Regions from separate parts of the Homo sapiens genome. Here regions 1, 2, 3, 4, 5 and 7 are each linked to region 6. Evidence: promoter capture Hi-C in 16 types of primary human blood cells and fetal thymus (Javierre and others, 2016). All regions are on one chromosome and are shown on one strand. The core of a region is centred on a gene start or on the middle of the fragment in contact, and the rest is flanking DNA. Distances in the headings are between cores, read along the strand shown. Region 1 overlaps OCRL (OCRL inositol polyphosphate-5-phosphatase). Region 2 has its middle 38 kb from the start of APLN. Region 3 has its middle 4.1 kb from the start of ENOX2. Region 4 has its middle 57 kb from the start of APLN. Region 5 overlaps OCRL (OCRL inositol polyphosphate-5-phosphatase). Region 6 holds the start of AIFM1 (apoptosis inducing factor mitochondria associated 1). Region 7 overlaps OCRL (OCRL inositol polyphosphate-5-phosphatase).

Region 1 (3,033 bases), core at 534-3,033, 610 kb before region 6:
TCTTCAATAAATGTTAGCTATTACTAGTCTGTTCCAAGTTCTTATAAACTTCTATTGTTCTAGTTAGTATATCAGTGCTTCAGGGATAGGTATGCTTCTTCGAACTCCAATCCAAGTAATTTCTACCCTTATGATAGTTTTCTGTTTAGTAATACCACTGATCAAATTGTGATCAAATCAAAGCCCTGTTACCCTGGATATGTTGGATGTTAGATTTTTTCCCCGTTTGACTTTGGGGTCTGTGTCTTTCAGGGCTTCTTGGATTTGAAGACAATTTTTCTTCTATGAATTTGGACAAGAAAATAAATTCACAAAATCAGCCTACTGGGATTCATCGGGAACCCCCACCTCCACCCTTTTCAGTGAATAAAATGTAAGTCCCATGTGAAAACATATTTGCCTTGTAGGAGAATTATAGTTTAAACAATTTTACTTTTGAATCTCTCATTTATTTGCTAGGCTTCCACGTGAAAAAGAAGCTTCTAACAAGGAGCAGCCCAAAGTGACCAACACCATGCGGAAGCTCTTTGTACCAAATACCCAATCTGGGCAGCGGGAGGGTCTCATCAAACATATCCTGGCAAAGCGAGAGAAAGAATATGTCAACATTCAGACTTTCAGGTTAGTGTCTCTTTTGCTTCCTGAGTCTAAAAAGTTAGTATATATAACAGACAGTGGCCTGTTGATATTTAAGACATTAGCCTAATTAAGAATCAAAATATGATAAAAAGGAATGGTTGCCTGTTTCAAGCTCCTGTCTCTATGCTGGCCAATAACATGCATATCAGAAATAATGCAGATGCTACAGTTTCCCTTGGATTTTCTTTTTTTGTGTGTGTGGGTCAGGGTCTCTCTTTGTCACCCAGGCTGGAGAGCAGATAGATCATGGCTTACTGTAGCCTCAACCTCTCAGTCGTAAGCAATCCTCCCACGCCAGCCCTGCAAGTAGGTGGAACTACAGGTGCACACCACCACATCCAGCTAATATTTGTGTTTTTTATAGAGACTGGGTTTCACCAGGTTGCCCAGGCTGGTCTCAAATTCCTGAGCTCAGGCAATCCACCCGCCTTGGCCTCACAAAGTGTTAGGATTACAGGCTTGAGCCACCGTGCTTGGCCTTCCCTTGGATTTTCTAACTACTAATAATGCCATGTCTACTAATGTCTCTACTGAGTCCTAGAGAACCAAATCAAGGTCACATGTACTAGAGAATTTTCCCCTAGCACATTCCATAAGCAAGCGTGTTTATATATCTGGCCTGTTAAGTTTTTTTTTTTCAGCCAATATTAGAAAATTAAAGTCCATCATTACCACTAGCTCTTAACTTACTTACTTTGGTAAATAAAGAAAGTTTCACCCAGTCCTCTTGATTGGGAGGTCTATCTTGGGTTCTTTTATCTGTATTATTTTTTATTTCATCTTTTTTCTGGACTTGTGTGTGTATGCTGCATGTGAGGTACCATGTGGCATGTATCGCCAATGCATGAAGCAACACCACATTTCTTTGTTATTCATGAGCAGAATGTACCCTTCTAGTCCAAGATTCTAGTCCCATCTGCTATCCTGTCATACCTCATTTATTCTAATTCAGTCATAACTATATCCCTATGCTAAAACTTGCAGTTCCTCATATCCCCCACTATGCTTATATTTGTGTGTAAACAGTTAAGACAGTCATGAGTTTTCCCTTCTGCTTTCCCCCTTAATACTATGTCTGCCTCATCAGAATTTCCTACACAGATGTCCTTGTAATCCTTCAGGAAGTGAGTTCCTGGAGTCAACTATAGCCCCTTATAGAACATTTATCCATATTTGACTAGCTTACAGCATGAAGATACCTCTTTCCCATCCATAAGCTCTCCTATCAAGTATGAGTTTGGATGGAGCTTAATTGAAAGGAAATGTGGTATAGCAATTACCTTTGCATTTTTTAAAAATAAAGACTTGGTTTCCTTCTGTAGTTTTACTTAATGTAAAATTTAGAGAAAATAAGCCCACTGCCTTTGTGTTCTAGATGCAAAAGATCTTTCTTACATATGTGGCAAAACATTTTGAGGAATTATGTTAGCATATTGTGAACATACCTTTGTATGGAAGCGAAAAGAAAGAACTTCTGTTGGTTTATACTTGATCTTTGTTTTCAAATTATCTTTTCGTATTATGTATTAGATTTTTTGTTGGAACTTGGAATGTGAATGGCCAGTCTCCAGATAGCGGGTTAGAACCTTGGCTGAACTGTGATCCCAATCCTCCTGATATCTACTGCATTGGGTAAAGAACACTTCTGGAATTTCCTTTTGGCTATATGTTTGGTGTTCATTTACATGATGTTTTGCCTTTTTTAAAAAAGACTGTTGGTAAAACCTACTGTAGACTATACACGAGAGTTAACTTGCGGGTCAAATTTGTGAGAACAGAAATGAACAGATACCTAAAATGGTGTAAGGAAGCATCTAATTTTCTTGAAACCCGTAGGAATCTATATATTCTGCATAGAAACTAAGACTTGGGGTCAGTTCTAACAGTGACAGTTCCTAGGATATAAGAGCAAAGCTCTGCTGTTATCCTCTGTGGGAGGTATTTTGATTTATTTTTTGCATAGCTTATGAATGTACTTGTGGGAATTCTTTAGAAAAGAAAGCTACTTGTTCTTACTGATAACCTGGGTGAACAGAGCAGTTCTATAAAATTTATCTCTCTCCCATCTTTTTTTCATCTAATGTTTCAACATATGGGACAGGAGGTAGCCAGAGATAATTATGGGATATGTATAGATCTCATATCCCTTTTTTCCTCAGATTCCAAGAACTGGACTTGAGCACAGAAGCCTTCTTCTACTTTGAATCTGTGAAGGAACAAGAATGGTCCATGGCTGTAGAGAGAGGTTTGCATTCCAAAGCCAAGTATAAGAAAGTAAGCCGCATTTAATTATCTTTTTAAGTGTATGACTAAATAGGGCTCACCGGGAGTTATTCCATTATCTACAACTTGTTCCAAAAGAATAGTTTAATTGAATTCTTCTCTGTGTGTAAT
Region 2 (4,041 bases), core at 155-2,654, 550 kb before region 6:
GACCAGGGCAGGACTCACTGAGGAAGTAACTCATGAGCAAAGCTCTGAAGGGAGTGAGGGCATTTCCAGTAGTCCAGCTTGAGGCCCTAGTATATGTGAGACCTGAGGCATTGGCCTGGCTTGCCCTAGATGTTCCTCTTCTTTTTGAGCCTGCTTGTGTTTGTCGGCTATTGGGTGAGGCTTGGCACAAGCAGTTGGGCCCAAGGGCACCCACTCATCCCTCCTGGGCTTGGAAAGCTGCTGTGCTGAAATGACCCCACCCCCATGCCCCTCCTGGGGACAGGGGACAGTCAAAGAGCCACTAGAGGCTCCCAAAACTCTCAAAGGGGCAAACCCTCTCCCCAGAACCTTATCAGTTTCCTGGTGCAGGCACTGCTGAGGACCTCAGCTGTTGTCTGTCCTTCTGGGTTTCTATGTTTAGTGTGAAGGCAGCCCTGGCACAGGCCTTCCTTCCCCTTCCAATCCGCAACAGCCTGTGCTCTGCATTGCAGCGTCACTTCCCTGCTGGAGGTTGCAATGTTTGCACCAAAAAGATGGCTTTCAAAGCCCAAGGTGTGTGTGCGGGGGGAGGGGTATGTGCACACACACAATGGAAGGGGGGCTGTATCTCAGACCCTCACATTTCATGGATTCATATGTCTTTTGCTCTGAGCATAAGGCTATTGAAGTCACAGTCATGGATTCCTGTTCTTTCGTTTATTCAACATTACAGCATGGGGTTACCAGCCTGACTACTAGCATCACATTGACTTGACCTTGAATATTAGCCCAACCATCTGCTTGCCATACGACCTTAGACAAGCTACCTGTAACCTCTCTGAGTGTTATTCTCATCTGTAAAATGGGACTCAAATGCAGTACCTTCCTTGTAAGGTTGTCAAGATTAAATGAGATCATCTTTGAAAGGCATTCAGCACCATGCCTGGCACACAGTAGGTGTCTCATAAATGACAGCTGCTATTACTATTAATTAGCCAGGGCTTACTGCACACCCATTGTGTGCCAGGCACAGTGCTAGGTGCTGGCAGAGTTAGCAAGAGGAACTCAAAGATGAGTGAGACAAGGCCCAGCTTGGCTCCATTCCTCACCCACATGTGGCTGCCCCAAGGCAGTCACCTCATCCAAGGGACCTTGCAGCTGAGTGTGCAAGCACCTGGGCCCTGGCGTGGGACCCAGTGGGGTTCAGGCCAGGGAGTGTCACCAGATGGGTGCAACACCCATACCCTTACCCTCACAAATGCCCCCCGCCCCACGCTGCCAGAATGTCACCTGAGTGCTGAGTGCCGGGCCTGCCCCACAGGGCATTGGGACGGAGGGCTCAGCACCAAGGCAAGGAGCTGCTCTGTGGGCTGGTCTGGACACAGTGGAGATCTGGGTCAGCGTTTTTCTGAGTGAATTCTTTTTTTTTTTTTTTTGAGTCGGAGTCTCCCCCTGTTACCCAGGCTGGAGTGCAGTGGTGCCATCTTGGCTCACTGAAGCCTCTGCCTCCTGGGTTCAAGCTATTCTCCTGCCTCAGCCTTCCGTGTTCAAGCGATTCTCCTGCCTCAGCCTCCCGAGTAGCTGGGATTACAGGCATGTGCCACCACGCCCGGTTAATTTTTGTATTTTTAGTAGAGACAGGGTTTCGCCATGTTGGCCAGGCTGGTCTTGAACTCCTGACCTCAGGTGATCTGCTGGCCTCGGCCTCCCAAAGTGCTGGGATTACAGGCATGAGCCACGGTGCCCAGCCTTGGGTCAGTGTTCTTCTGTTTACCCTCTTCAGTGTCTCAGCGGTTGGCAAGGCATCATCACTCTCTACCTTTTCTTGGGAAGTGGATTCCCCTCCCTGTCAGAGACTCTTCCTATTATTTTGGGGCCCCTTTCTCTTTCACACTCATTCACACACTCCCCAATCTATGTCCTCAGTCACTACTAGCCTTAGTGGTCAGTGGATCCCCATGGCGAAGGGGAAGCTCATTGGATCATAGCAATATAGCTCACTCGCCCACAGGGCGTGGCCCACTGGAAGAAGAGGAGAGGACAGGACAGGACTTGGCCTCTGCCTTGCCTGATGGATTGTGTTATCTCATGCAGGAGGGAGTGGGGAAACCCATGTGGCATTCGATACACAGCCCAGTGCTAAACTATGCAGTCTGAGCTCTATGCTGTCTAAGAAGAGGGCAAGGGCAGTGAGGGCCATAGCAAGGAAGGGAGACTTGAGCTGAATCTCAAAGGAGAAGAAGGATTGGGATGGGGTGGCAGACTCCAACCTGGGTCCAGGGGGATGTGCTCAGCTGTCTGATGGCTGGAAGCAGAGACCCATGTGCCATGAGGAGTGAAGATGTCCATTAGGCCCAGGTGAGAGGTGGAGCATGCGAAGTGGGGGTCAGGGCTGGGGGCAGAAGAAAGGCATAGAGGAACCATTGGCCAGAAGGTTGCAGAGGCCATAGGGGTAGCCTTTTTCCTCCAACTCCCATTCTATTCTCTTTTTAGCCTTTATTTTCCGCACCATTCCCCTCCTCTACTCTCTTTCCCTTTTTTGGGGTCTCTTTGTCACCCTCCTCCCTTTTTTCTGAGTCTCAGTTATTTTATCTGCAAGATAAATGTGCTCATCCTGGAAGCTGGTGATGTTGCCTCTCCTGCTTTTCATTCCAATTCTGAGATCTCATTCAGCAAGAACTGCTGTCTTAGGGCTGCTCTCCCAGGACTGGGCCCTGTTGGCTCCTGTGGATATACATCCACCAGCAGAAAAGCCTGAGGGTCCAGGCCTTGGGATCTGTGCCACTGCTTGCTGGGGGTTGCGGGACAAGCCTGTTTTGCTTCTCACTCAGGCTGAAGACAGGTGAGGATGCCAAGTCCAGAAATTGCTTTGCTTCCAGCATCAAATGGCTTCCTCTCAGCAGCACAGTCCCTTTAAGATGGCGGGGGGCGGGGAAGCTAGAAGAAGACCTTTGATGTTGTTCAACTGAGAAATCCATCAGGTGGGAACAAGCCCGGAAATGCCAGAGTGAAGGGCTCCGTGGTTGGCTGCATTGGTGGGTCTACTGCCTGGACTTTGTTTTCTGATGGTAAACGTTCCCTGACATAAACACAGGCAGAGCAGGGAATAACAACATTCAGTCCCCAAACAAACAAAACAGGAATGGGACCTGTCTTGCACGGGGAATGGCTCTTGTTGCAATGATATAGCTCAAGAGGCCTTCACTGTGGAATTTCCTGCCTTGAGCATGATGAATTTTCCATTCTTGTCCTCGAATGAACAGTCGCCATAGAGCTTAGTGGCTGGCCTGTGAAGCTCAGCAAGGCCCTCTGGGAAATGGGCAGCTTCGCCTTGGCTGAGCCTGGTCAGAGGGGCATGCCTACCTTTCCTTGAATCAGTTGCTACTGTACGCCTTAAAGTGCCATGAGAACCATCATCCTCAAATGCTTAAAGACTGAGCTTAAAGCCATCTTCCTTTTCTACCTCATCTTTATTATTATTATTATTATTATTGTTATTATTATTATTTTGAGACAGAGTTTCATTCCATCACCCAGGCTGGAGTGCAGTGGTGTGATCTTGGCTCACTGCAACCTCTGCTTCCCAAGTTCAAGTGATTCTCCTGCCTCTGCCTCCCGAGTAGCTGGGATTACAGGCATGCTCCACCACGCCTGGCTAATTTTTGTAATTTGAGTAGAGATGGGGTTTCATCATGTTTCCAGGCTGGTCTCAAACTCCTGATCTCAAGGGATCCACTCACCTCAACCTCCCAAAATGCTGGGATTACAGGTGTCAGCCACCGCACCACCTATTTCCTACCCCATCTTATTTGACTCCCTTTCATGCACCAGACACTCCAGCCATATCAGATGCATACCCGCTTTCCACGAGTAGGCCATTTTCTTGCATTCCTGACTTTGCTTATTCTATTCCTATTGCTTGGACCACTCTGCCCACATCCCCATTTCTGCCCATCCAAGAGGCAGTATGCACAGTGGTGATGAGCATGGAATCTGTCTAGGTTTGATTCTGGGCTCCATTGCTTACCATCCATGTGGCCTTGGGCAAGTCATTTAACCTCT
Region 3 (4,138 bases), core at 55-2,554, 740 kb after region 6:
GAGCTTGGAAAGTTAGGGCTGCAGTCAGCCGATATTGTACCACTACACTCGAGTGTAGTGGGTGATAGAGCAAGACTCTGTCTCAAAAAAAATTAAAAAATTAAAAAAAGAAAGAAAAAAGAGAAAAAGAAAAATCACCTCATTTCAGCCATAAAAAGGAGTGAAACAAGGCATTTTCAGTATTATGGCCACCAGAAAAACATTGTGTGAATCAAATGCAGAATTTCTTTTCTCAGCTTTGTCTCCTTTCTTTTTATCTTTTTTTCCATGACTCTTTACTTTGATTTGATCATTGATTTCAAAGTATTTGCAGAGCACCTACTATGTTCCATACACTATGACAGGTTTTGGGTTTTAATGGTGAGTTAAAACATGGGTTCCTGTTCATCAAAGTATTTCTAGCAGGAAATGGAATAATCAGATGGAGTTGGTAGATGTGGAAAGTGAGAGACGGGGAGGAGTCCATTACGACTCCCAAGTTCTGACTTGGAAGACTAAGTGTATGGTAGTACCATTCACTGAGATATTGAACCTAGAAAGAATAGCAAGTTTTGTGAAGAATAGGAGGAAATCAGTTTTGAACATTTAAAATTTGAAGAGTCTGTGGAACTTTTGGTTGGAGATGCCTGATAGGCTGCTGAGAAATGCCGGTCGGAAGCTTGGGAGAGAGGTCTTGCTTGGAACTAAACATTTGGGAGACATTAGTATAATATAGAGGGCAATTAAATAAGTGAAAAATTGTTTAAACTTTACTTAGAGAGTATTTTTTTTTTTGAGACGGTTTCTTACCCTGTTGCCTAGGCTGGAGTGCAGTGGCACAATCTCGGCTCACTGCAACCTCTGCCTCCTGGGTTCAAGTGATTCTCCTGCCTCAGCCTCCCGAGTAGCTGGGATTACAGGTGCCTGCCACCACAGCTGGCTATTTTTTTTTTTATTTTTAGTAGAGATGGGGCTTCACTGTGTTGCCCAGGCTGGTCTCGAACTCCTGACGTCAAGTGATCCACCCGCCTCAGCCTCCCAAAGTGCTGGGATTACAGGCGTGAGCCACTGTGCCCAGCCAATTTAGAGAGTATTTAGAATAATAGTTTTTAAAAAGACAAAGATTATGGAATCCTGGAAAATAATGATATTCAAGTAGCAAGTAGAAGAAGAGATGCCTTCCAAGGAAGCTGAGAGGGAATGCCCAAACAGATGAACCAAGAGAAAACAAAGTAGAATTACTGGCATATATTACAGAGAGGTCAAGTAGCAGGACAGAATAGTAAGAAGAAATTACTCCTTCATCAATATAACAAGTTTTTATTGAGTACCTATAATGTGCCAGACATTATTCTAGATGCTGGGAATAGAGAAGTGGAAAACACATACAACATCCCTTCCCTTTGGAGGCTATATTCTGTTAGGAAGAAGCCATCAACAAACAAGATAAATAATTAAAATACATAGCTGTGATAAGTAATATTTCTTACTGTGTATGTCACAGCTGTGTATGGCTATTTCTGTATGGTGATATAAATACACACACACACACATATATATATCTCCAATAAGCCATATGGAAATTTTATATATAATATATAAAACATATCTATATCTCCAATAAGCCATACAGAAATTTTATATATAATATATATTATATATAAGCACAAATGTATACATATATTTGTATGTGTATATACAAACGTGATACTCTTTGGTCTGTTGTTATATAATAAGATGAATTTGTGAAATACTGGCCCAGGGTCAAACAGTCTGGCTGGATTCAGAGAACAATTAGGAAGTCAAGGTTAGAGCTGTATCCAGAGCCAGTGTAGAGCCCAGGTCAAGGCCAGGGTTCATGTGTATAATGTGGAATGTATTTAGCTTCAATCTTTTCTCAGGTTAAGATTTAGTAAGTCTGTAGCTGTTTTTACAGGCCATTGTGGATTCAGGATCAGAAGACCATCAAACCAAGCTTAGGGTTAAGCCTGATAGCAATATTAGGCCCCAGATTTAGAGCCATGGTTCAGTCTGTGTCACAGATTAAAGTGCATTTCTGACCACTCTGGACTAACAGCAGCCTCAGGGTGTTAAAGCTCACTCTGAGGCTGCTGTAAGTCTAGAGTGGCCTGGTTTATGAAGTCAAGGTGCAAGATTTGGGTTCAAATTTTGGCCAGAATTAGGATTTAGTCTGTGTGTAGGAAGAGGCCTCATTCTAAAATTAGAGTTAGGGCTCAGTCTGTGGACCAGACTTAGACCACACCCAAGGTTAGGGCTCAGCTCAATGTTTGACTTTAGTTTTTGATCAATGTTGGAATCACTTTCATTTCTAGACTTGAAAGTCAATAAAGGCCAGGACCATGGCTCTGCCTGGGATTAGTCTTCATGCTGATGATGTTGCCTAGGAAAAAATGAAGTAAGAATATGAACAGGATTTATGTTCAGTCTTTCTTCAGGTTAAGTTTCAATTCGTATTCATGGTTAGAGTTTATTCTGGGTCCAATAATTAAGTCTCAGTCCGTGGCCAATGGTAAGGCACAGTCAATGTCTAATATTCAGTCTGTTGCCATGTTAGGACATTACCTGTCATGTGCCCTAGAGCCTTGTCTCAAACCAGAGTTAGCATTTCATATATGGACAAAATTATGATACAGTTTGTGGCCAGGATTTCAATGATGAATATGAACAGGATTTGGGATGCATATTTGGCTAGAGTAAGTTCAAGGTGTGGTTTCTGACTTTAGCCAGTGTCAGGATTCTGTCTTTGTCCATAGCTCATATCAACAATGTTCTATGGAGCTAACTCACAGTGGCCTGTGTTGGCCCTCATTCTGTGGCCAGAGCAGGGCTCAGTCGGTGACCTGTATTAGCCATTTCAATTTGACCACTATCAGAGTTGAGTCTGGAGGGAGTAATTCCACTATGACTTTATGTAGCATTTGTGTTCACTGAGTATTGGTGGTAGTGCTATCTGATTAAACTTGTACCAGAGTTTGGGAGTTACCAATAACCAAGGTAAGGCTTACTATGAAGAAGGTTTTAAGGCTAAGAGTGTAAACAGGTTTTTTGGATTAGCTGTTGATGTTATTTGTCAGTCAGTGGATAGAGTTGAGATGAGAACAAACAACACATAAAATCCAGATTGAAAGCTTTAGAGGCTCAGGCTGTAATCAGGGTTTTGGGATCAGGATGTTGCCAGGGTTTGAGTTCAGAGTGTTCATTGCCTGTTGTCAGTCTGGCACTTAGACTCTGGCTTAGTGTAGCAGGCATTTCGGTATCAGTAGTAGAGTTCAGTCTTTGCTAATTGTTAGTGACCATAATGTGCCCAGTGCCATGGGTACATCTATTCACAATTGAGGACTAAGTTTGTGACCAGACTGATTGCTCAACCTCCAGCTAGTGCTAGGACTCAGTTTGTGGCCACTAATACAGTGAACTTTGTTTATGGGTTTAAGACTTGATATGTGACAAAGGTGAGTACTTAGTCTCAGCCTGTTGTTAGATCTGATAATATGAGCAGGATTTTGATTTAGTCTTGTAGGGTCAGGAATCATTTCTCTAACCAGGCTTAGGGCTTGGCCTTTAGGTCTCAGACTGTGGTGGGACTTACAGTCTTCATCCCAGCTCAGTATTCAGAATGTGGCCAGGAAGAGGGCTCAGATCTTAGCCATGGTGAGTTCCGTCTGTGCTCAGGGTTAGAATTAAATCTGTTGCAGGGTTTTAGGCCAAGAAAATGAAAAGTATTTGTTTTGTCTTTGTCTAGTTTGTCCTTCATTCATCTTCAAGGTTTGGGTTCAGTCTCTGCCCAGTGCTGGTGAGCAGCTTAATTTCTGGTATTAGGAATCAGTCGGTAGCCAGGGTTAAAGTTAAAGTTGTGGTTGAAATTGGGATCCAGTCTCGGGTGAACATTTAGCCAGAGATAGGGTTCAGTCTATCTCAAAAATTCAGGATCAGTCATTAGCCATTTGGAGAAATCAGATTTATTTTCAGGTTGAAAGCTCATGTCAGAGGTTAGGCTTATGGGCTCAGTCTGTGATGAGAGTTAGGAATTCAGTCTATGGCTAGAGTTAGAGATGCAGTCTGTAACCAGTTAGAAGCTGTAAGGTTTAGGGGTCAAATCAGTGGCCAGTGATAGGGCTCAGTCTGTCCCAGGATCAGT
Region 4 (3,678 bases), core at 481-2,980, 570 kb before region 6:
GATGCACTCGAGGGTACAGCGGGGGGCCTTGGTCAGGAAAAGTTTATTTGAGGAGGTGATGTTTTAGCTGAGACTTAAACCTCAGGAAGCCAAGACACCGTATCTTGATTTGAATACCCCCAAAAAGAGCCACACGTGCAAGATCTGGCAAAAGACATTCTGAGCAAAGGAAAAGAGAAATGCAAAGGCCCTAAGGCAGCAAAACAGCTGGCTGTGCTCAGGGGACAGCCAGGCAGAACTCTGTGAGGGACAGGACTTGCTGGACAACTGATGAGCAGGAACGTGATCACAGAGGGCCTGAGGAACCCCAGGCAGGAGCTTGCATTTCATTCGACACCACAGGGAGCCATGGCTGGCTTTACTCAGGGAAGTGACGTGATGTGACTTCTGTATGCTCCTTCTCCTAACCTTAGGAAGAGTAATAACTAATAACTCTAGCTGTCATTTATCCCAGATACTAATACATTTAACATCACTTTTGCCTTTACGATAGCCTGATAAAGTACTACATTATCCCACTTTTTTTTTTTTTTTTTAAGACGGAGTCTAGCTCTGTCACCCAGGCTGGAGTGCGGTAGCATAATCTCGGCTCACTGCAACCTCCACCTCCCGTGTTCAAGCTATTCTCCTGCCTCAGCCTCCCGAGTAGCTGGGATTACAGGCACGTGCCACCACGCCTGGCTAAGTTTTGTATTTTTAGTAGTGACAGGGTTTCACCATCTTGGCCAGGCTGGTCTGAAACTCCTGACCTCGTGATCCACCCGCCTTGGCCTCCCAAAGTGCTGGGATTACAGGTGTGAGCCACCATGCCCGGCCATTAGCCCACTTTTATAGGTGAGAAAACTGAGGCTCAGAGAGACAGCATAACTTGGTACTCGGCTAGTGGCTGACCAGAAAATGACTTCTGAGCCCAAAATTTGTGCTCTTAAACACAGCCATTGTCTCCCCAGCTGGAGTGGGCATGAAGGTGAGGGTGCTTCTTAAAACCCCTATCCCTTCTAGCTACATCCCAAGATTTCATGTCAGCTAGATTGCCTGCTGGCAGGTCAAATTCAACTTCTCTTTGACCTTGACCAGCTTCTCCTGGCATCCTCCTCTCTCCCATCACCCAGGCCTAAGCTTTTGGTTATTTTTGGCCCCTGCCCCACTTTCTAATCAGTTACCAATTGCAATTCAACAAATATTTATCCAGCACCTGCCAAGTGCAGGCTACCATGCAGGGTTCTGAAGGAAACCAAAATGGGTGAGACTGGTCGTTACAAGACAAGACAGACATAATATTTTTGTTTGTTTTGTTTTATTTGACACGGAGTCTCACTCTGTTGCCCAGGCTGGAGTGCAGTGGCGCGATCTTGGCTCACTGCAACCTGCACCTCCTGTGTTCAAGCGATTCTCCTGTCTCAGCCTCCCTAGTAGCTGGGACTACAGGCGCGTGCCACCACACCCAGCTAATTTATTTGTATTTTTATTTTTAGTAGAGACGGGCTTTCACCATGTTGGCCAGGCTGGTCTTGAACTCCTGATCTCAGGTGATCAGCCTGCCTTGGCCTCCCAAAGTGTTGGGATTACAGGTGTGAGCCACTGCACCTGGCCAATATTTTTTTAAAAGAAGGAAAAAAAGGAAAGATGGATGAAAGAAGGGCAGGAAGGAAGAAAAGAGGGAGGAAGATGAGAAAAAGGGAAGAAAGCAAGAAAGAAGAAGGAGGGAGGAAGGAAGGACCTCCACGGAAAAGGGGCCGAGATCAGCTCAACCGCAGTCTCTAGCTGGCCCCTCCTTTCCACTGCGCATTTCCCAGCCCCTCCAACTCCTGCCCCACCCCCCCACCAATAAAATTCAAACACTCATTGCCTCATGTAAGGAGTTAAATCGCCTGATGTATTTAACTCCTTTCTAACTAATTTCTCAGTTGCCAGTTTCTCTCCCTGTACACATCACTGCACTGTTTTGATGTCTCTCCCCTATTCCAGACCCCTGCTGGCCCCCCAGCCCACTTGCCACAGAAGTTCCAATCCTTCTGCCTGGCATGCAAAGCTCTCCTTAGTCTCTTCCACCCACCTCTCAGGCTGAGTCTCCCACTCGACCTTCTCATGCCGTTCCCTTCCCTAAACTCATGCGCACTCTCTGCTTTGGCTCGGTGGTCTGTACCAGCCACCTGGAACCCTCCAGCCCCCACCTCTCCACCTGCCCAAACCCCATCAAACCCAAATGTCACCTCTTCCAGGAAGCCTTTTCCCACAACCCCTGCCCACCACCCCCCTCCCCCGAACTCCTAGAACCTGCCCTCTGTACCACTATTTTAACACACTACATACCAAAGGATGTTGTTGCCCCTTTGGGACTGGAAGCTTCAGGAGAGTGGGAACCAAGCTGGGCGTATTTTAGTTTCCCCACAATGCCTTGCAGAGAGTAAGTGTTCAATGATGTTTGGCTAATAAATAAAGATTGTCTGTTAAAGCATAAGTGTATCCAATAAGTGTTCCTGAAATGTATATACATTTAATTATTCATTCTGAGCTCTATTAACTTTAGAGGAGTTCATGTGGTAGGGGGGGACTTACTGAATTATATTAATGTAATCCAAGAAGATAATAGTTTTTAGCAACCACACAGTACTGTTATTTTCTATTGTTTTGTAGGCAACAAAATCAGCCTTGTTAAATTTGCTTTTTAAAATTGATTCTCAAAGTTTATTAAAAAATTAGAACTAGAACTACCATATGGTTCAGCAATCCCACTTCTAGAGATATATCCAAAAGAATTGAAAGCAGGGTCTCAAAGCTATATTTGCACACCCATGTTCCTAGCAGCATTATTCACAATAGCCAAAAGATGGAAGCACCCCAAATGTCCATGGATAGAAAAACAAAATGTGTTAGTTCTCTACATACAATGGAATATGATTCAGCCTTAAAAAGGAAGGAATTCTGACACATGCTGCTACATGGATCAACCTTGAGGACATTATGCTAAACGAAATAAGCCAGTCCCAAAAAGCACTGTATGATTCTACTTCTATGAGGTCCCTAGAATAGTCAAATCCATAGAGAAAAGAAGCATGGTGTTACCAGGGGCTGGGGATTGGGGAAATGGGCAGTTGTTTGATGGGTATACAGTTTCAGCTTTGCAAGATGAAAATGTTCTGGAGATTCATTGCATAGCAATGTGAATACTCCTAACACTATTGAACTCTACACTTAAATATGGCTAAGATGATCAATTTTATGTTTTGTGCTTTTTTTTTTTTTTTGAGTCTAGCTCTGCCACCCAGGCTGGAGTGCAGTGGCGCGATCTTGGCTCACTACAACCTCCGCCTCCCAGGTTCAAGCGATTCTCCTGCCTCAGCCTCCCGAGTAGCTGGGATTACAGGCACCCGCCACCATGCCCAGCTAATTTTTGTATTTTTAGTAGAGACAGGATTTCACTGTGTTGGCCAGGCTGGTCTCAAACTCCTGACCTCGTGATCTGCCCTCAGCCTCCCAAAGTGCTGGGATTACAAGCATGAGCCACCGTGCCTGGCCCCTGTTTTGTGCTTTTTACCATGATTAACATTTTTTTTTTATCTTAAGTGATTTTCCAAAGGCAAGTCTGATCACATCACCCCTCTCTGGGTCCCAGAATTCTTACCTGGACCCACAAGCCTTGGCTTGTCTGCTTGTCATGGACTCAAGCCTCCTCCC
Region 5 (3,672 bases), core at 566-3,065, 590 kb before region 6:
GTTTTAGCTGTGACTCAGATAGCAGATTAAAACACTGAGTCCAGCCCCGGCATTCTTTCTTGGAATTATACTTATTTCCCCAGAGCCCTCATGACTGAGTATATTACCTCTGTTTGAGAGAGAACCATTTTCTTCAGAAATTCATATCCTACCGTTCTGCTGTTTTTCATGATAATTGTTTTTCTCCTAACATTATATTTCTGTCTTTTAGATTTTAGTATTTCACCTTTTAGAATACATTTTGGATGATGAAGTTGTTTTTCTTATTTCTCCTACCCCCTTTCCTTCATCTCAGACATTATTTCCCAGCTTTCTTTGTTTCAGCTTTTTATTATGAAAAATGTCAAATGTGCAGAAAAATGGAAAGAACAGTACAACACACCCCCACATGCCTTCTGTACATATATACACACAGATGTTTTTTGCTGTGTCATGTAAAATTTAGTGGTAATATGTCACTTCACCACTGAACACTTCAGCCTGCATCTCTTAACAAAAAGGGCACACTTAAGCACAATACCATTATTATGTATAAGAAAACTAACAGTAATCCATAGTATCATTTAACATTCGGTCCATATTCAGATTTCTTCAGTTGTCCCAAGAATTTCTGTTATACCTTTTTTTAAACCAAAATCCAATCTGGGTTCATATAGTATTTGGTGAGGTCTCTGAAGTCTCTATTGGAGTAGTACAGTTCCTACTTTCTTTAGTGACATTGACTTTTTTAAGAGTCCAGTACAAATGTCCAGTCAAGGGTCAACCATTTCCTAAATTTTTCTGGTTGTTTCCTTCTTGTTTTTTTTTTTTTTAAACTTATCCCATTTATACTCTCTCCTTCCACCTTCATGTAAACAGGAACCTACCCTTATTTTTAGTCAGAGTCAGTGAAGATATTAGAATATCTTTGCCATTAATATGAAAAACTGCAAAGCCATTAATATGAAAAACTTTGCAGTTTTTCATATTCTGGGATTGGCCAGAAGAGGCTCAACCCTCATAAAGTTTTTATTTTATGTAAAGTATACTATCAGGTAATTTTACCATGTTTGCCCATGAACAGAAAGGAACCAAAATCATTAGAGGAATGAATGGCTCTTTGGGAAGCCTTTTTCCTTCTTTTTGTGCACAAGTGATTGAGGGTTAAAATAATAGAACCCTGATCATTTTTAATTACAGAATTTCTGAGTTTTTATTAAATTGTATGTGTGTGGACATCATTTTTCTTTTAAAGCTTTTATTTTGTAGGATTTAGGGTTCTTTTCACAGTCTGTTGCATTTCAGTGTTATTAAATTCCTGTATCTCATTGATGAGGAAATTATCTATACAGGTTGATTATCCATTATCCAAAATGCTTGGGACCAAAAGTGTTTCAGATTTCAATCTTTTTCAGATTTTCAAATATATGCATTATATACTTACCAGTTCAGCTTCCCTAATCTGGAAATCGGAAATCTGAAATGCTTCAATGAGCATTTCCTTTGATCATCATGACAGTACTCAAAAAGTTTCGAGTTTTGGAGCATTTTGGATTTCTGGATTGGGAATACTCAACCTGCATTACTGTGGAGCAGTAAACAAGAAATCTAAAAACAATTAGTATCCCATCTTTAATACCTTCTCACTCTGTTGTGACTTGATTTTGACCTTCTGAAATGATTCCTCAGGTATAGTATTCATGTTTTTTTTCCCCAAGACCCAATATCGTATTTCAAATCTCATGAGATGATGCTGTTAATAATGGTACCTGCCCTCTGTTGTATTATTTGCTCTAAAATTTTGGTAAAGCCAGAAACGAGTTCAATGTATGTGTTGTCTCTCTATGTACTGTTTTAGAAAGATCCTTATGCACTGTTTTAGAAAGATCCTTATGCCACACCATCTTCCCACCAAATGCAGAATGAAATAACTGACATAATTATTTTTCATCCTTCCAGCCCTTTTCATAATAGTGACTTTGCCACTCCTAGAATAGTTGAGATTAGCACAAGTGGGAAACGGATGAAAATCTACCATTTGTAATCATCTTTATTGTTTTTCAGAATTAAGATAGATTTTTCTGTTATATTAACTAGAATATTAAGTAGCAAATAATCCTCAATATTGATTCATTACACACTGGATACAAAGTATTATGGAGTTTATGTGAGTTCCCATAATTTAGTGGTGATGAAAGTATATTTGCACATAAAATATGGCTAAACTTTAAGTCATGGTTAATAGGGAGTTTGGTTAAAGATAATCTGAACATTAACCACCTTTACTGGCTAATGTCTGGTGTGCTTGGTAAGTCAGTATTTTGGAAAGTCGTTTAAAGTGACTGCTATGAAGGTTGTAGTTTGTATTAACAATAGGTTCCTTTCCTATGTTGTTTATTCAAGCCCTTATATGCTATAAAAGCTTATTGACTGACCAGCTAATCCCTATAGAAATCAGAATCAGCCTGTTTTCATTTTAATGAATATTTGATACATGTAACATTAACATGACTGAGAAATAAGTTTAGCACATAAGAATAAAGTGAACTAGGAAGGTGATTTGGAGTTAGTTATAGAAGTATTTTCAGTCAAGTCCAAGTACTTAAGAAACACTTATTAATATAGTGGGTGAGCAGGCTCTTCCAGGCTTAGAGGACATCTTGAATAAAGGGTAGAAGGTGAAAGTGAAAAGACCATGTATGAAAAACTGTAAGATTTCCCTGGGACAAGTGAAGATCAAGGATAAGAATGTATGAAGCTGGTTAGGGAGAATGGGGCAGGTGGTAGAGAGTCTTGAAGTCAATAGATAAGTTTATGCATGAGCCAGAGGGTATCTAGAACCATCAGAAGGGTTTGCTGATTAGTATGAGGTTGCAAATTGATATAGTTGGAAGAACATTCTGGTGTTACTTGTAGAATGGACTAATTGAAAGGAGACAAGACTTGAACTTGCCAGATGTGGCTAAGTTGTAAATACGGAGATGAAAAAAGTTGAGGGATGGGTAGAGAAACTATATTTGCTTGGGGACATATCTGTTGGGAGAACAATATCAAAAGTTTGAAATAACAGGAATAACTTGTTAATTTGTCCGTAGTGTTTTTTTCACTATGTTTTTACTTTGTCTTACTAATCTAACCATCCATTTCTTACTCTGTTAAGTATATGGCTTGTATTTCTTCTCTATTTCATATGAACTAATCCTTTTTAGAACTTCATTTTCCATTCAGTTTTCGGCTATTTATTTATTTATTTTTGAGATGGAGTCTTACCCTGTCGGCCAGGCTGTAGTGCAGTGGCACAATCTTGGCTCACTGCAACCTCCATCTCCCAGTTCAAGTGACTCTCCTGCCTCAGCCTCCCGAGTAACTGGGACTACAGGCGCGCGCCACCACGCCTGGCTAATTTTTGCCTTTTTAGTAGAGATGGGGTTTTACTGTGTTGGCCAGGCTGGTCTTGAACACCTGACCTCAGGTGATCCACCCGCCTCAGCTTCCCAAGGTGCTGGGATTACAGGCGTGAGCCACCGTGCCCGGCTATGCTTTTTATTTTTAAATTTGCATCTTCCACCTCTAATTGACTCTTTTATTTTAGCTGCATTTACCACGGGGAACAGTCTTCTGAGGGTGAATGTTGGGGTAAAGAATGATTTGCATTGCATTTGCTATGTGCCAGTGTTGTCCCACTGGGGAAAT
Region 6 (4,159 bases), core at 1,159-3,658:
AAAGCAGTTAGGAATCAAGCCACAAAACAGAGTTAATTCCTAAAATGAGAGTATCAGAACTTCTTTTTGAAAATTTAACACTACCCTCACCCATTTTTAAAGGCAGATGATGTCATACTTTGGTGCACGGCCAAAGGACAAAGAACAAGTGTATGCAAAGAGATGGATGGATATGTCAGGAAGTCCGAATATATTCTACAGTAGACTGCCTTCAAACAAAGACATGCAGTGGAAAAAACCATTTGAGTCTGTATTTTTCAGTAGTTCTAACAACACCAACCACTTTCCAATGTCTAATAAATCAACTTAACTTTGCAAATGCATATTTAATTGATGAGAACTTTTGGTCAGACTTTAGAATGCTGGTAAAAGTTGTGAGACTTAAGCAAAACAACTACTCAAAGTTTGAAAGGCCAGTGTGGATGAAAAAATTCAGGTTATCGCCGGGCGCGGTGGCTCACGCCTGTAATCCCAGCGCTTTGGGAGGCCGAGGTGGGCGGATCACGAGGTCAGGAGATCGAGACCATCCTGGTTAACATGGTGAAACCTTGTCTCTACTAAAAATACAAAAAAAAAAAAAAAAAAATTAGCCGGGCGTGGTGGCGGGTGCCTGTAGTCCCAGCTACTCTGGAGGCTGAGGCAGAAGAATGGCGTGAATCCGGGAGGCGGAGATTGCAGTGAGCCGAGATCGCGCCACTGCACTCCAGCCTGGGCGACAAAGCGAGACTCCGTCTCAAAAAAAAAAAAAAAAAAAATTCAGGTTATCTCAATTTCTGTGCAACAAGCACAGAGCACCATCATTTCAATACACAAAACCCTCAAAGATGACATCCATTGATAAGGCATTAGTTTAAAAGCTAAGCAGAGGTTTTAAGTTCCAAGAGCAGTATGTCCCAGGACATAACTCAAATACACCTATCAGGAAACATTTTCATTGTGCATAGCAACTGGAAAAACTGTTCAAATGCACATTTGCAAAGACCCTAACAACCCAAGGAAAATATTTTCCACTTTTTATTTTTAAAGCACCCAGGTGTTTCTGTATTGTAAAAGCCTCAAGGATAACTTCTGACATTGCAAATGCCCTAGGGGTGGACATTGAAGGATTACTGATTTTTTTTTCAAAGCAACTCCTACAGGTGGATCATTCATTGCCCCCATGAAGTAACGCAGTACGAAAAGAAGCAGGCTCAAGCCATGCTCAGATAAATTCACGGATATCTGATGTACAATGGGCTAATTACTGGGAAGAGACCCGAATTCATTCTTAACTTTTTGAGGTCAACTTTAGGAAGCAGTATGGAGTTGCAGCGAAGGGATTAAGGACCTGGAGGCTAGCAAACTATCCTTAGCTCTACCTATTAATTAACTATGTGACCTTTGGCAAGTAATTTCACCTCTCTGTGCCTCAGTTTATTATCTATAAAATGAGTGGGTTGACCTTTACCACAAAATCCCTTCCAGCTCTAAAATTTGATGAAACAACTTAATGGAGAACAAAATACAATGCGTTCTGCAAACTGTTTCTTTGAAGCCTTAAAGACCACCAAGAAGTACACGGCTCAGGCATCTCCAATTAAGTCTGGGCCAATTCTCTGGGTGTCTGGTACACAACCAACCGACTCCTTACTTGCCCTGCACCGTTTCTGTTTCACTGGGCATTCAAATCCATGGATCTCATCTGTGGTTTGGAAGGCTGAGCAGATAACACCCTCATTTACACAAGAAACTTAGGCGTAGGGCTTAAACGTCCTGTTTAAAGTCTCAATCGGTAAATGACAAAGTCTACTTGACCTCATTGCTCTAAAAAGGGGGGTGGGGGGTGGGGATGCCGGGGAGGCGCCGACAGCCAGTTGTTCTGGGATCCCTGAACAGCAAACGCTCCCGGGAAAAGGCCTCAAGCCGACTACTGGGTTCAAATCTCTTGAAGGTCAGGTCGGCATGGCTGAGCCAATTCCTCCGCTTGCAAGACTCAGGGTTCGGAGTCTGCCAATTTGGAATTCACGTGACTATGTGTTAAGTTTCTCGCGGGGACGCGGGGGTAGAGGGCTGCAAGGCACAGGGAGCCTAAGGCGCCAGGCCCTCGGACTTGGAGGTTGCCTGGAATGGGTCAGTCACCTGGGAGCCGGTTCCTCTGCCTCGGGCTTCGGACGCACACGGTCCGCACCAAGGGCACCAGCTTCTGCTTCAAAGCACCCGCCGCCAGGCCTCCACACCGGAACATTTCGGCGACCGCTATTCGGGACCTCCTCCTTCCCTTTCCTCTCACGCACGACCGACGGGTCAAACACCGTGAGCCCCGGCCAGCTCCCCCAGTCTCTTCACACGCACATTACGCAGACTCCTCCTCCCAGCTCCGGGTGGGCATTGGACAGAGAAGCCGGCCTGCTAGAGCCGGGGAAGGGGAACGGCGACCGGAGGCCTACTGCGCAGGCGTAGCACTCGCTGCCGCATTGCGATTGGTCCGCACGGCGAGAGGATTTGCGCATGCACTAGCTGGCCGCAAGCTCGCAAAGACGCTGGCTCTAGGTAGCCGGTTTTCGCGAGTTTGTGGCACAGTGTTGGACTGAACGAGTTAAGGAACCTGTTCAAGGAGGGACTCGTGGGGCCGCTTTGATTGGCGGTTGTGCCTGGTGCTGCCGCTGTGTTGGTGACGAGAACTGATAACAGCATCTCACAACAGCGTAGCCCCGGCATCGCACTTTGTTTTTTGGTTTTAGGACACCAGTTACTTGATACCGAAGCCTTCCTGATTCTTTTGCAGTGATCCAGATCCAGTTTTTCCATGAGTCCGAGGCGCGGAACCTGGCTTCCCAGATCCGGCGTGTACTTCCATCTTTTACCAGTTGCCGGCTCTTTCCCACCCAACCCGTTTCCTGGACAAGTAATTCTGCGCTCTTCTTCCCGCCTGTCACCTTTATTTATTAGTTCAGTTGTGTGTCCTAGATGCTGTATACCAGGTGCTACAGATACACACAGTCTCCTGCTGTGGTTTCTGTGCTTGGGAGCAGGATGTTAGCAAAAAGCGTTCGTGCTTCTCGGACTTTCTGGGAAGAGAAGTCTGCTAAGCAGAACTTTCAGTTATGGGAGTAGGGTGAGGGGCTGAGTGTAAATAAGTGTTTTGACTCTGCCAGATATAAGCTAAATTGGAAATAATGTTTTGGCTGCATGCAGAACATACAATGTGCCTGTTTCAAAGATTCAGCTTACATATTCATTTAACAAGTATTTATTGAGCACTTACCTCTTGGATTGTACTATAAAAGGGGCTCTGTTGGGTATGAAAAGTACGGATGGTCCCCGACTTACCCCTCACAATGGTTCGACTTACAATTTTTCGACTTTATGATGGGTTTAATGAGACCTAACCCCATGTCAGTCGAGGAGCATCTGGACTTAAGCATGGTTCAACTTACGGTTTTTTGACTTTATGATGGGTTTATCAGGGTATTAAATGCAGTTTCGACTTAACGATATTTTCAGTTTACAATGGGTTTATTTGGACATAGCATCTATATAGGAAGTGGCCACTGTCTAGTTGGGGAGATGACATATACCGGTCATTGAAATAATATCTGGTGTAGTGCCGGACAGAGCAAGAGAGAAGACTATGGGATGGAATCACTATGGTAGAACTTCGTGTAAGAAGTTATTTGAGTTGTGTCTTGAAGGATGAGTAGTAAAATTCAAACAGTAGAGGAAAAGGATTGATATTTCAGATGGTGAATACTTTCGGACCAAAGATAACATTTTTCATTGTTAAACATGTTGACCTTGGATCCAGACCAACCCACATTGAATCCTGGCTCTGCCACCTGGGCAAGTCACTTAATTGTGCCTCATTTTCCTCATCTACAAATCTCAGGAGGGTGTTCGGAAGACTAAATGAGCTAATATTTGTAAAGTGTCTTAGAGGAAGCACCATGCTGTTTGTTAAATGAAAAGGCTTGGAACTGTTTTAAAAAACCAAAACCCAGCACATTTTCGGGGGACAATGATAGAGAGTACATACTAAGAAGTATTGATGTGGTCAGGCTCCGTGGCTCATGCCTGTAATCCCAGCACTTTGGGAGGCCTAGGCGGGTGAATCACTTTAGGTCAGGAGTTTAAGACCAGTCTGGCCAACATGGTGAAACCCCGTCTCTACAAAAAATCCAAA
Region 7 (3,658 bases), core at 537-3,036, 620 kb before region 6:
CAATTCTGTGTAAGTTATGGGGGTATAGTTGGGGGTATATGTGGGGGTATGGGGCTGCTATATAACTAACATTAATATATAGGTAACACTATATAACAACTATATAACTAACAACTAATATAGTTGTTGCTATATTAGCAGTTTATATATAAACTATGTAAATAGTTTTAAATATATATAAACTATAGTTTTAAATACATATAAACTATAGTTTATATATAAACTAACATATAACTAACAACTAATATAGTTGTTGCTATATAACTAACATTCAATGGCTGCTTATGTGCCAGGTACTGTTCTAAGCCCTTTTCATTAGTTAGTTCATTTAATCCACATGTGAGGGTTACTATAAGATAGTAATATCATCATCCCCCTTTTATAGATACAGAAATTGAAGCACAGACAGGTTAAGTCACTTGTTTGCAATTAGGGAGTAGAATACCTGAGATCTGATCCTATGTAACATGTCTCAGAATTACACTGAGAAGTTTCTCTTGAAAGCATTTGCTGGAGACACCTAATACCATAATACCATCTGTAATCCTCATATTCTTGTCTCTCTGGTGTCTTTTCTGACTCGAGTGTCCAGAACTTTTTACTTTTGGCTTTTTTATCCTAGAACTTGAAGCCTGACTTAAATCTTTAGGTCTGTGGTTCCTACTGTCAACCATAGGAAATTTGCTTGACCAAAATTACAATTAAAAATCAGGGTTTTTTTGGAAACAGGGAATCAAACACTTAAGATTCATATTTTTCAAGGATAATAGATTATGACAAAACCTGTTTGACCTTTAACCTTCCTTGAACAAATCAAAGTGTTTCCTAGGGATAAGGCAGAGTTGGCATTCAGGATTTGTCACTCTTTTCTGTTTGACAACTACCAAATTCTGAATTCCATTGTTTTGCTGTATACCAATTATTTCTAATCTTTATATTCTGAAATGAATAATTACACTCAGAATTTTTATGCTTATTCTTAGCCCTACTCTTTTATTGTAATTTAGTGGGTAACACGTAGTAAATACTCAATAAATGTTGGTGAAATTCACTTAAATTCTCAGTTTATTTGTTTTGTAATAGTTTTTAACAGTACTGTCCAGATGAAGCTTTAATGCTAATGTTCAACACCATTTCTTGTTTATGTATTTTGAGATTTTAGTGGTTTGTGTTTATCTTCCTCAAAGTAAGCTCTTCCTCCTTAACCCTTGATTTCTCAGCCTTTTATCTGGTTTCTGGTTTCCATCTGGGTTTATAGGACTCTCCACTCAACTCATGAACTTTCCAGATGGAAAGGGGCCTGCCCCATATTCCTGTAATCACCTTAGAGTACAAACCCCTGCAAATTAGGCAAGAAGGATCACAGCAGAAAAACAGCATTAATACTTTTATTTCCCTTAGTTCTATCTAAGTAATTACTTATCCTATCCCAGGTTATCCTCTTCAAAGTTAACACATTTGAAAATGCAAAAAGCAAAAGCAACAAGCACCCCCAAAAGACAACAAAATAGAAATCAAACCCTTCAAAACAATGACATTTTAATGTCAGAAGTTGGACAGTTTCATTGAAAAATTCACCGCTGCTTATAGCTTAATTAAGCTAGTTAATTTATTCAGCCAGTATTTGTTGAGCATCTATTAGGCTGCAGACAAAACTGAATATGATCTGGTCTTTGCTTTCAAGGAGCTGAAATCAGTGAGGGGAAATAAATATAACCATAATGGAGTGTGTAAGTGTTCTATTAGAGGGGCAAACAAAGGCGATAAGGCTGCTGGTTCTGCTTGGGGGTACTGAGGACAGTTTCATGGAGGAGGTGATATTTGAGATGAAACTCGGAAAGAAACAGAGTGTTCCTGACAAAAAACTAAAAACAATACTTGAAGAGTGCTTGACTTTGAGAATGCTAGTTGACGTTCAGAATGGCTGTTTACCAGTAGGTCGTACCTTGATTCTGGACCACTAAGGATAAATAATAAATGAAAAATTAATATTTCAGGAGTACGTATGGATTTAGAAGTATGGATTTCATCTGGGGAGTCAGGTTTACTCATGTTTATGTAGAAATACCAGCGTAAACTTGGAAACCAGAGAAGAAACAAGGGATTTGAAGGCAATCCAGTTGTGATATCTGCCACCTTGTTGGTCACTGATATTTTGACCAATCCAGCTGGCTGAGCACCCCCTCTTACTCCTCCATGAACCTGAATGCTTGTTTGAAGAGACAGATCCATTCTTTGGTAAAAAGCCATGGGAATATAATTGGAAGGTTAATTTATGAATTTTCTAATTCATTGATTCCACACACACGAGCAACTCCTGTGTGCCAGGCTTTGTGCTAGGTACTAGAAATTCCGTGGTGTAAAGATAGCTGTGGTCCCTGCACTCATGGACTTCACATCTAGCTGTCAGTTCTTCACTCTGGTATGCATACTCTGAAGCTATATACTCTGTAATTCATGCTCTTAAGCTTGTACACTGTTTTTAGGATATATGGCCTAGAGAACAGTGTGGGTAATCAGATGTTCATCACCACTAGCATCCTTTTAGGCCTAGAGCAATATCTAGCTGTCATGATGCTCAGATCCAGGGAACTAGATGCAGCAAGTCTAGTAAATACAGACTAGATTTGTATAACAGGACAGTGAAGTATTTTTTTGCTAAATGAGTTTTTCAGTGGCTGTTCTTTGATGCGTTCTTCTGTTTCCTAGGTTAATAATCCAGTTGCATGAGAAGGAACAGCATGTTCAAGATATCATTCCTATAAATAGCCACTTCAGATGTGTTCAAGGTACTAGCTTTAATTCCTTAGCTAGTTTTATAATGTTTTTTCTCGGTCATTACTGCATTATGTAATACCATACATATTTAAATTTGTCAGTGCATGTAAAATGAAATGTATTACTCTTTGCATAAAAAGATAACATTGAGGAGATGATACTTTCTCTAAGAATGCTGAAGGGTTATATCGAAATATATTTGTATATGTGTGTCTATAGTCTCACCTGTTTCCTTGGCTTGGGTTAGAGATGTATGTAGATTGTTACCTGTGTAGGTAGTTTTTTATGCTGACTGACCTATATGTGGATTTAAATAACATTCTTGGGCTTAACGGACACAGTGCTCATAAGGTACCAAGGTCACTTGGATTCACACACATTCAGCACTTTCTCCACATGCTATTTGAAATTAAGACATTTGGCAACATGCCTTGCCAGACTGTAATATCTTACACTCAATTGTGCTGATTCTCAAACCTTGACATTGGTGAATCATAAGAAAATTGACTCTGGGGAGGAAATATTTGGCCTCCTGCCCTCAAATTTGGGGACGGAGCATAGAAAATCTGTTGTTTCATCTGCTACAATGAAACTTAAAAATTGGGAGGTTTGTGTAGGAGGTGTTGCTTCTGTCATCTCACATTGCTCTAGAAAGGAAATTGATACTAGAGAACAAATGCATTCTGTTTTCACTAGGACCAGTGGCTTTATCTAGCAGAAGCATTCTGTATCAATTGTAGCTTCTTGGAAAACTTGTTTTTTCAAGACAAGGTCATTTCCCAGGCTCAAGTGATCCTCCCACTTCAGCCTCCCAAGTAGCTGGGACTGCAGGTGCACCACCCCCCAGCTAATTTTTTTTGTAATTTTTGTAGTGACGGGG

The links. The method cuts DNA at HindIII sites, captures the fragments that hold promoters and counts their contacts. A CHiCAGO score of 5 or more calls a contact.
Region 1: a contact is called between a fragment that was not itself captured here and the fragment with the promoter of AIFM1 in region 6, in 4 of 17 cell types (M1 macrophages, M0 macrophages, total B cells and 1 more). The highest score is 9.1, in M1 macrophages.
Region 2: a fragment that was not itself captured here is called in contact with the fragment with the promoter of AIFM1 in region 6 in 11 of 17 cell types (naive CD8 T cells, total B cells, non-activated CD4 T cells and 8 more); the score reaches 10.8 in naive CD8 T cells.
Region 3: a fragment that was not itself captured here is called in contact with the fragment with the promoter of AIFM1 in region 6 in 1 of 17 cell types (naive CD8 T cells); the score reaches 6.0 in naive CD8 T cells.
Region 4: a fragment that was not itself captured here is called in contact with the fragment with the promoter of AIFM1 in region 6 in 4 of 17 cell types (total B cells, M1 macrophages, naive CD4 T cells and 1 more); the score reaches 7.1 in total B cells.
Region 5: a fragment that was not itself captured here is called in contact with the fragment with the promoter of AIFM1 in region 6 in 6 of 17 cell types (M2 macrophages, M0 macrophages, total CD8 T cells and 3 more); the score reaches 12.0 in M2 macrophages.
Region 7: a contact is called between a fragment that was not itself captured here and the fragment with the promoter of AIFM1 in region 6, in 5 of 17 cell types (M1 macrophages, M0 macrophages, M2 macrophages and 2 more). The highest score is 9.0, in M1 macrophages.

The regions. Positions count from the first base shown.
Region 1 is chrX:129,558,381-129,561,413 of GRCh38, forward strand. It overlaps OCRL (OCRL inositol polyphosphate-5-phosphatase), which reads left to right. Exons shown (of 24, transcript NM_000276.4): 7 at 253-373; 8 at 460-621; 9 at 2,170-2,271; 10 at 2,799-2,913. Among named protein-coding and RNA genes, the nearest start is that of OCRL, 20 kb to the left of the region's middle. The HindIII fragment of the contact is 2,612 bases long and covers 478-3,033 here.
Region 2 is chrX:129,614,627-129,618,667 of GRCh38, forward strand. No RefSeq gene overlaps it. Among named protein-coding and RNA genes, the nearest start is that of APLN, 38 kb to the right of the region's middle. The HindIII fragment of the contact is 7,528 bases long and covers 1-4,041 here.
Region 3 is chrX:130,905,194-130,909,331 of GRCh38, forward strand. No RefSeq gene overlaps it. Among named protein-coding and RNA genes, the nearest start is that of ENOX2, 4.1 kb to the left of the region's middle. The HindIII fragment of the contact is 1,296 bases long and covers 657-1,952 here.
Region 4 is chrX:129,596,054-129,599,731 of GRCh38, forward strand. No RefSeq gene overlaps it. Among named protein-coding and RNA genes, the nearest start is that of APLN, 57 kb to the right of the region's middle. The HindIII fragment of the contact is 1,227 bases long and covers 1,118-2,344 here.
Region 5 is chrX:129,577,650-129,581,321 of GRCh38, forward strand. All of the region lies in intron 18 of OCRL (OCRL inositol polyphosphate-5-phosphatase), which reads left to right. Among named protein-coding and RNA genes, the nearest start is that of OCRL, 39 kb to the left of the region's middle. The HindIII fragment of the contact is 1,167 bases long and covers 1,233-2,399 here.
Region 6 is chrX:130,163,433-130,167,591 of GRCh38, forward strand. AIFM1 (apoptosis inducing factor mitochondria associated 1) reads right to left here and starts at 2,409. Exons shown (of 16, transcript NM_004208.4): 1 at 2,119-2,409. The coding sequence starts at 2,224. It also overlaps a transcript of RAB33A not described here. RefSeq lists an enhancer at 2,058-2,397. The HindIII fragment of the contact is 8,785 bases long and covers 1-4,159 here.
Region 7 is chrX:129,542,249-129,545,906 of GRCh38, forward strand. OCRL (OCRL inositol polyphosphate-5-phosphatase) reads left to right here. Exons shown (of 24, transcript NM_000276.4): 3 at 2,710-2,789. Among named protein-coding and RNA genes, the nearest start is that of OCRL, 3.8 kb to the left of the region's middle. The HindIII fragment of the contact is 1,359 bases long and covers 1,108-2,466 here.